2 separate regions of the Homo sapiens genome follow, and region 2 is linked to region 1. The links are contacts of gene promoters, found by promoter capture Hi-C in blood cells and fetal thymus (Javierre and others, 2016). All regions are on one chromosome and are shown on one strand. The core of a region is centred on a gene start or on the middle of the fragment in contact, and the rest is flanking DNA. Distances in the headings are between cores, read along the strand shown.

Evidence for each region. The method cuts DNA at HindIII sites, captures the fragments that hold promoters and counts their contacts. A CHiCAGO score of 5 or more calls a contact.
Region 2: a contact is called between a fragment that was not itself captured here and the fragment with the promoter of CAPN8 in region 1, in 1 of 17 cell types (M1 macrophages). The highest score is 5.5, in M1 macrophages.

Annotation. Positions count from the first base shown.
Region 1 is chr1:223,664,339-223,668,182 of GRCh38, reverse strand. It overlaps CAPN8 (calpain 8), which reads left to right and starts at 2,482. Exons shown (of 21, transcript NM_001143962.2): 1 at 2,482-2,773. The coding sequence starts at 2,537. The HindIII fragment of the contact is 20,763 bases long and covers 134-3,844 here.
Region 2 is chr1:223,177,785-223,182,088 of GRCh38, reverse strand. No RefSeq gene overlaps it. Among named protein-coding and RNA genes, the nearest start is that of TLR5, 37 kb to the right of the region's middle. The HindIII fragment of the contact is 932 bases long and covers 1,117-2,048 here.

The DNA.
Region 1 (3,844 bases), core at 1,233-3,732:
AAGAAAGCCAGGAGGGGAGAATGGAGCAGGAGGAAAGGTAGGCAGGGCCAGCTGCTCAAGGTCTAATGGGCTGTGCAAAATCCCCCTTACTCTTCTCCCAGGAACAGTGGGCAGCCATTGGAGGTTTTAAGCTTGGCAGTGACACAGCCAAGATTTGCAATGACCATTCTGTTTTGACTGAATGGAGTTGTGGTTCTGGTTTTAGGGGTGGTTGGGGCCACCCAAGTGAGACCGTGTCAACTGTGTGGGCCGGTGAAAATGTAACTGTGAACACTAGATGAGCTTAATAGTGGGCAGATGTGGAATCAAAGGGAAAGTGATGTTGAGGGAAGGAAGACGGGGTCCCCAAGGGGGCATGGACCATAGTCTTTCTGAGGCTAGCTTTAGCCTCTGAAGGCCATTTTGGCCTTGAATTTCTTTTTCTTTCTTTCTTTCTTTTTTTTTTTTTCAGGCAGGGTTTCATCACTCTGTCACCCAGGCTGGAGTGGGTGACTCACTGCAGCCTTGACCTGACCTCCTGGGCTCAAGTGATCCTCCTACCTCAGCCTCTTGAGTAGCTGGGACTACAGGCATGCACCACCATGCCCAGCTAATTTTTCTTTTTTTTTTTTTAGAGACTGGGTCTTGTTATGTTGCCCAGGCTGGTCTTGAACTCCTGGGCTCATGCAATCCTCCTGCCTCAGCCTCCCAAAGTGCTGAGATTACAGATCTGAGCCACCATGCCTGGCCTGGCCTTGAGTTTCTGATGAAACCTGGGAAACCACATGTTTTTCTGAACACCTGGGAGCAACCCTTCTTTCTACTTGCTCAGACCTACCCACCTAGCTAAGTGCTTAACACGTGGACTGTCATTGGCTTAGAAGGTCAGAGTTGGAGGCCTCAGAGGTCGGCTGGTCCAGAGCTTCTCAGAGGGCATCCCTGGATCCTTGTATTAGCATCATCTCTGTGGTACTGGTTTAAAAACTGCAGATTCCTGGGTCTTACTTCAGACCTCCTGAATTAGAACTCTTTTTTGGGAGGGATGGGGGTGGAGGATTTGTGGTAGCACCTATTAGGGAATCAGCATTTTGAGCGAGTGCTCCAGGGGATTCTTCTGCACACTATATTTGTTTCCTGCGTCTTCTGTAACAAATGACCACAAATATGGTGGCTTAGAACAACATACATGTATTCTGTCACCGTTCTGGAGGCCAGAAGTCCCAAGGCTGTGAAATCGAGGTGTTGGAAGGCCCACATCCCTCCAGCGGCTCTAGGGGAGAATCCATTCTTGCCCCTTCCAGCTCCTGTGGCTGCTGGTGTTCCCTGGAGTGGGGCAGGATCTCGCTAACCTCTGCCTGCCTCATTTCATCACCTCTCCTTTTTGTCTATTGTCAAATCTTCTTCTGCCTTCCTCTTAGGACACTTGTGTATTTAGGGTCAGGATAATCTTCCCATCTCGAGATCCTTAACTTAGTCATAGCAGCAAAAACCCTTTTCCCAGATAAGGGACTATTTACAGGTTCTCAAGATGAGGACCTGGTATCCTTGGGGGACCATTTTCTAGTGTGCCACAAACACTGAAGTTCAAAAAGCATTGGTGTGGTTGACATCCTTCGGGTAGACCAGATGTAGGAAACTGGAGCCCAGAGAGAAGTGACTAATCCAAGGTCATACAGCTTGTAACTCACTTCTGAGATTGGAATCAAGGCTCCTGATTCCAAGGCCTTTCTGGGAATCCTGGCTTCAAGGAATAGTGATACCTGACATTCACTGAATGTTACTTCATACTGTTCTAAGCAGATGACATGTACTATCTCATCACTCTTCCGAACAACCCTTTGTGGTAGGCTCTCCTATGCTCTTCCAGTTTATAGATAAAAAAACTTAGGAGAAAAGAGGTTAAACAACTTGCCCAACATGACAGAGCAAATTACCGGGGGAGCTGGGATAGAAACCGAGGCAGTCAGAGGCCAAAGCGTTCACTCACAGGTGGAACCTCCTCCAGTCAGGCTTATTCCAAATCTGGCCTGTGAATCACTACTCTCTGGTATTTTTTGCCTTCCTAGGAAATATGCACCAAAACATTTCTGGCAGGAAAGGAGGCCCCTGTAACTACTTGCCTTCTTCCTGCTCAGAGCCATGCCTCCAATTCCTTGATGAATATTTGCTTCAAGCTGCTCAATAAGCCTTCTCATCTCAGTCAATGGGCTTGAAGCAAGGTAAGCAGGTCTTGCAAAGAGGTGTGTGGAGGGAATGCCGGGGTGGGGTCAAGATCCTAATGGATTTCTTAGGCTAATGGCCTGGGATGGGCCCTGGAAAGTTCCCAGACCCCAAATTATTTGCAAAAGGCAGAAGAAGAAGGTGGGGCAGATTGGCCTGGACCTTGGGTACATATTTGTCCCTGGCCATGACTCACTTCCTTCTGGAACAGGGCCTCAGGTGAAATGTTTGTCTGCTCCACCTCCTTTAGTGCCTTATAGCTCCCCTCCCAGTGGAGCAGGTGTCTGAGAGTACAGTGCAGCCCTGCCCTTCTGTCCACCCTACAGAGCCCACGGCCATGGCAGCCCAGGCAGCTGGTGTATCTAGGCAGCGGGCAGCCACTCAAGGTCTTGGCTCCAACCAAAACGCTTTGAAGTACTTGGGCCAGGATTTCAAGACCCTGAGGCAACAGTGCTTGGACTCAGGGGTCCTATTTAAGGACCCTGAGTTCCCAGCATGTCCATCAGCTTTGGGCTACAAGGATCTTGGACCAGGCTCTCCGCAAACTCAAGGCATCATCTGGAAGCGGCCCACGGTAAGGAAGCGGGCTTGCTGTTGAGTGACATACAAGGTGGAGGGGCCTTACATCTGATCAGGAGGAACTGAGGGAGAAGTTGAGGCTGTGGACCCTAAGTGTCTGGATCTCATATTTCAGATCCCTCCACCACCACCTTTTTTAATTTTATTTTTTTGAGATGGAGTCTTGCTCTGTCACCCAGGCTGGAGTGCAATGGCATGATCTCAGCTCACTGCAACCTCTACCTCCTGGGTTTGAGTGATTCTCCTGCCTCAGCCTCCCGAGTAGCTGGGATTACAGGCATGTGCCACCATGTCTGGCTAATTTTGTATTTTTAGTAGAGATGGGGTTTCTCCATGTTGGTCAGGCTGGTCTCAAACTCCCAACCTCAGGTGATCCATCTGCCTCAGCCTTCCAAAGTGCTGGGATAGCAGGCATGAGCCACTGCATCTGGCCCCCCCATCACCTTTTGAACTCTTATTTTTTTTGAGGCAGAGTCTCACTCTGTCACCCAGACTGGAGTGCAGTGGTGCGATCACAGTGCACTGCAACCTCAACCTTCCTGGGCTCAGGTGATTTTCCTACCTTAACCTCCCAAGTAGCTGGGATTATAGGCACGTGCCACCACACCCAGCTAATGTTTACATATTTTTGTAGAGACAGGGTTGTGCTGTGTTGCCCAGGGTGGTCTTGGACTCCTGGGCTTAAGCCATCTGCCCACCTCAGCCTCCCAAAGTGTTAGGATTACAGATGTGAGCCACTACACCCAGCCTGAACTCTTGTTCAGAGATGGTGAGGTATAGAGAGAAGAGCATGGATGAGCTTTGGAACTAGGTAAGATAGATTTGAATCCTAGCTCTGCCTGTGTTGTTTTGGGCCGGTAAACTCTGTGAACCTTAGTTTTCTCATCTGTAAAATGGCATTTACTGGCACCTTATTTTTCAGGGTTGGTATGAGAATTAGAGATAAATCTCAGAGCATAGTGCCCAGAACATAATAGATGCAGAATACGTAGTTGTTATTACTGCATATGGTCCCTGGGCCAGTGCACAATGGAACAACTCAGTGCTGGATGCAATCAGCTGGCAG
Region 2 (4,304 bases), core at 333-2,832, 490 kb after region 1:
GACACCACTCTGGCAGGGGTTGTTGAAGTACCCCATCATATCCTCATGAGGGTGGAAGTCTCTGATCCCCACCAGGTCTTTGCTAGCATGGATCGGGATGGGGCCACAGTTTTTACTGTAGTGTTTGGAGCATAATGGTTATCGTCTAAAAGTCTTCTGCCTTGCTAGGCTGCCTCTTTCCTTATCCTTTAGCTAGAGAGAATAGCTTTTTGTTGATTTTTTTTCTCCTTCTCTGCACCTGTTTCTGGCTTCTTCAGCTTCAGGCCCAGGACATATGAGCCAAAAAAAAAAAACAAAAAGCAAAAACAAAAACAAAAAGAAACAGCAAGCTCATCACTGTGTCATTCCTCAGGTCCCACGATTCCCGGCTGGTTCACCTCCTTCTCTCTGCCTTTCAGAATCTTCTAACTTTTATTTATATAAACCAACCCAGAGTTTCTAGTTGTCTTTAGCATGGGGAAAGGGGAACAGTACATCTATCCCATCATTCTGGAAACATGTATATACACACACACCCATACACACACTGCATTTATGTTAGTATCAGTTATCAGGTCCTAATGTTCATTCTCCCTTTGCCTTCTCCTTTGCACTCCCCATTATGTGCCATTTTTCTCTCCCTCCCTCTGCCCCACACTGTTAGATTTGCTGTGCTCCCTTTTCTGGCCTTCCCCCTTGTTTTCTTCTAAGACTGAGGAAGAGTCTATTGGATGTAGCAGAATAATTTGGCAACTATTTAAAACCCATCAATCCTTTCATTCCACCTCATTCAGTCTCACCTCCCACATGGTCTCACCCCACACCTGTGCACATGGGGCCTGGCGAGGCTTGCTGAGCACTGCAGGAATCCACTTGAGCCTTACAGCTCACAGACATCCAGGGATCCCTCTAGGCATCCTCAGCTTGTATGATCCCACAATTGCACTTTCCTCATGATTATTTCTGTGACTAATTCTTCCCCTTGTCTCTTAGTGTGTGGTGCTTTATGCCTTCCACGTTTCATTCTCTGAAGTTTTAATTGATTTCTTACACTTCCTCCTCATGTGTGTGGATTCTTTACTTGTTACAAAATCACTATTGCAAAAGCCTTGATTATAAAAGTCCCTGGCACAAGCTTAGCGTCTGCTAAACTATCTGACTGCCCACACCCTTTCTCTGGACTTGTTTTAACCTTTTTCAGTTCCGCTCCAAGTGCTCTATGGTGTGGTTGTTTCGTAGAACTGGTGCTTAAAGACTAATGTCTCTCCCTGTTGTGCCTGCTGGGTTTCTAAAGAGGAAACCAAGTAGCTAATAGTCTATTTATTTTTCCAACAGTCTCAGGAAACAAACTCATGCAGGGCATCTATCTGCATAAAAGAAGTAGTAGCTCCATTGCTCTAGCTAAAGGGTAAAGCCACATTGGTATGCACTGCACAAAAGTAGAGGCTGACTTTAAGTCATAATTTGCATTTTCTCCTTGCAGAGCTATTTATCTGGAGATGTTAGAGTTCCCTGTATGTGGGAAACTCTCATTTAGCATTGTATAAATGGACTCTGGCTGAATCTGTGGAGCTCAGGCAGATATCTAAAAGTGGGCAACATGTTCTCTGGAATAGCTTTCCATAATTCTTTAACAACTGGTACCTGGTCCTGGTATGAAGGAACGGTTGAACTCAATTATCTCCCCATGAGAGAATTCCAGAAGAGATGGCTTAAACCCCAATCTCAGAGGTTTGAAGGAAATTCACATCTCCAGAAGGGACTGTGGAGGACAATGTCGCTCAACTATTTTAAGTTAGCAAAATGTCTCCCCTAGTCAGAGTAGGGAAAATGTAAGGTAAATATTTAAACAAGCGAAAGGAGGCAGTAAGCAAGAAGACAAAACCAACTCTACCTTCAAAATCATACAAAGAAAGAGGCTGGATTCTATTGGAATTAAATTGATGGAAAGGTCCTGGACCAGGCTGTGTCCTCCCCATGTGGCTGCAGTGGACACTGGACAAGACCCACTGGTTTATTTTGTGACTTTCACTCATGTGATGCCATTTATCAAGGTCACATGGCAAGCTTTTGGGAAAATCCACCCAGATTGCTGGTCTTTACTTCATTCCACTGTGGTCACACAGCTTAGCTACCAAGGGATTGGAGTAAGAAAAGTGTGCAGTGGGAGGCTGGGGTTGATCGTGGATTTATTTGGTAATAAAGGTCCTTGGGCCACATGTGCTCTGAATACAGTGATCTCACACAGACTTGCTCCCATTCAGGGACCTTATTACATATATGTCTCTCTTTGCCTCATGGTCATTCTTGTGTCACCAACCAGACTCCAAGTTTCTTGAAAACAGGGATGGTATCTCAGACTTAGACATTCCCTGGTATCTAACACAGTACTGGGCTCAATAAATGCTACATCGACTTGAGAGGGCCTGACAAAGGCTGGGCACAGTGGCTCACGCCTGCAACCCCAGCACTTTAGGAGGCTGAGGTGGGAAGATCACTGGACCCCAGGAGTTGGAGACAGCCTGGGCCACATGGCGAAACCACATCTTTAAAAAAAAGAAAGAAAGGAAGGAAGGAAGGAAGGAAGGAAGGAAGGAAGGAAGGAAGGAAGGAAGAAAGGAAAGAAAGAAAGAAAGAAAGAAATTGAGACACAGAAGCCAAAAATAACAAAAATGATGTTTGATAGAAAACCCATTTGAGGTAATTTATAAGTAAGAGAAAAAAATTAAAAAATAGAAAGGGCCTGACAAACATGCATATTAGTTCCTATGGTCAGCCTGAGCCACAGAGGGGCCGAAGGCAGAAGGAGCAGGAAGATCTGAGATGCTTCAGCAGAGAAGGGGACCTCTGAGGAGACTGGATCGAAGAACCAGCTACAGAGTCAAGCTAGTGAAGGAAATGCTTAAACTCATTGAAAGAAAAGCACCCCTCCCTCAAAGAGGGCTCCTTACCCCAGACAATGCCTGGAGTTGTCTCCTCTCTCACAGCCAGAACTCAGAAGGCGTGGATTTGCATCGTATCTGCTTGACTTACTGAGGCAGATCAGAGAGGGGCTCCTCCGCTCTGCAGAGCTCAGAGACTTTCCTCTCCCCAGAAGAGTTAGTCTAGTCATTGCTGGTGCCCCTTCTTTCGGATCAGGCTGTCTAATCATCCTTCCATACCTGGCCAGTGGGGTGCAGGGGGTTAAAGGTAAAAGAATCTTTCCTATAAAGTAGTTTAGATAAATTCTGAGGATGAGGATATTGATGAATTGGCAAGGAGAGTGGGGGGTGGGGCATGCAAACCTCTATGTAGGAGAGGAGAATCGATTTGATTAGGTTTTTTAAAAAAAAAGAATGGGGCCAAAACACAAATGGATATCATGGATCTCTCTCTCTCCCCCTCCCCTCCCCCACCATGCACACACTCACACACACACTCACACACACATGCACCCGCCCCAGGGCTTCTGCTTTCCTCCCGGGGCTACCTGTGTGCCAGCATCATAATTAACCTGCATCTCCCGCTTATCACCTGCTGCACCCCCTGTTCCCACTGATGCTTTAGCTTCTCCAGGGCCCTGCTCTTCATTTAATCTCACAGCTTCTCATGGTGCTGTAATTCCAAGGCAGGGGGAGGACAGCACTATGTATAAATCTCTCCAGCCGCTCTCCCTCCTCCCCAGCCTCCCCTTGGCTTACAGGCTCCCTGTGACCCCAGAGACTCCCAGAGATGGATGGAGATTCCTTCCTGGTCCACTGGGCTGTCAGAGTCCCCAAGACTTGCTGTGCAATTTTACACTCTTCCCTAGATTAAAAGCAAAGTCATTATGAAAAATCTACCTGTCCTGAGTGAAAGCCTACATACATACAGCAAAGGCTGCTTTCCCACGGTTCTGCTGGGCTAGGGCTGGGGAATTGGCATTATTGGGGGTGCAGTAAAGGTTAGCCTTTTTGTCTTCTTTTCTGCAAAAGCCGTTTTTACACATTGCTATTTTGAAAATAATAAAGCACTTTCTTTGGGAACTTGGGGTCTTGGTCGTGTTGTGGGCGTTGGCTTCCCAGCCTCTGCTTTATTTCATTTGTCTGCATTTCTCTTTTCTTATTGGGCCTCCCTGAAAGTGTTCAGAATGTCCCCAGACTCGAGCACCGTTTTCTGTCTGCCACTTCCTCATTCCTTGTTCCTCAAATTCCCAGAATACAGTGGTTGACAGCACTGGCGGGTTTAGGGACAAGCCAAGCTCAAGTTCCAGCTGGGCTGTTTGTTCACTGTGACCTTGGGTGAGTTCTCTCACCTCTTGCACTGCGGGCATGATGACAGTACCTGCCTCAAGGGGTTGAGGCAAT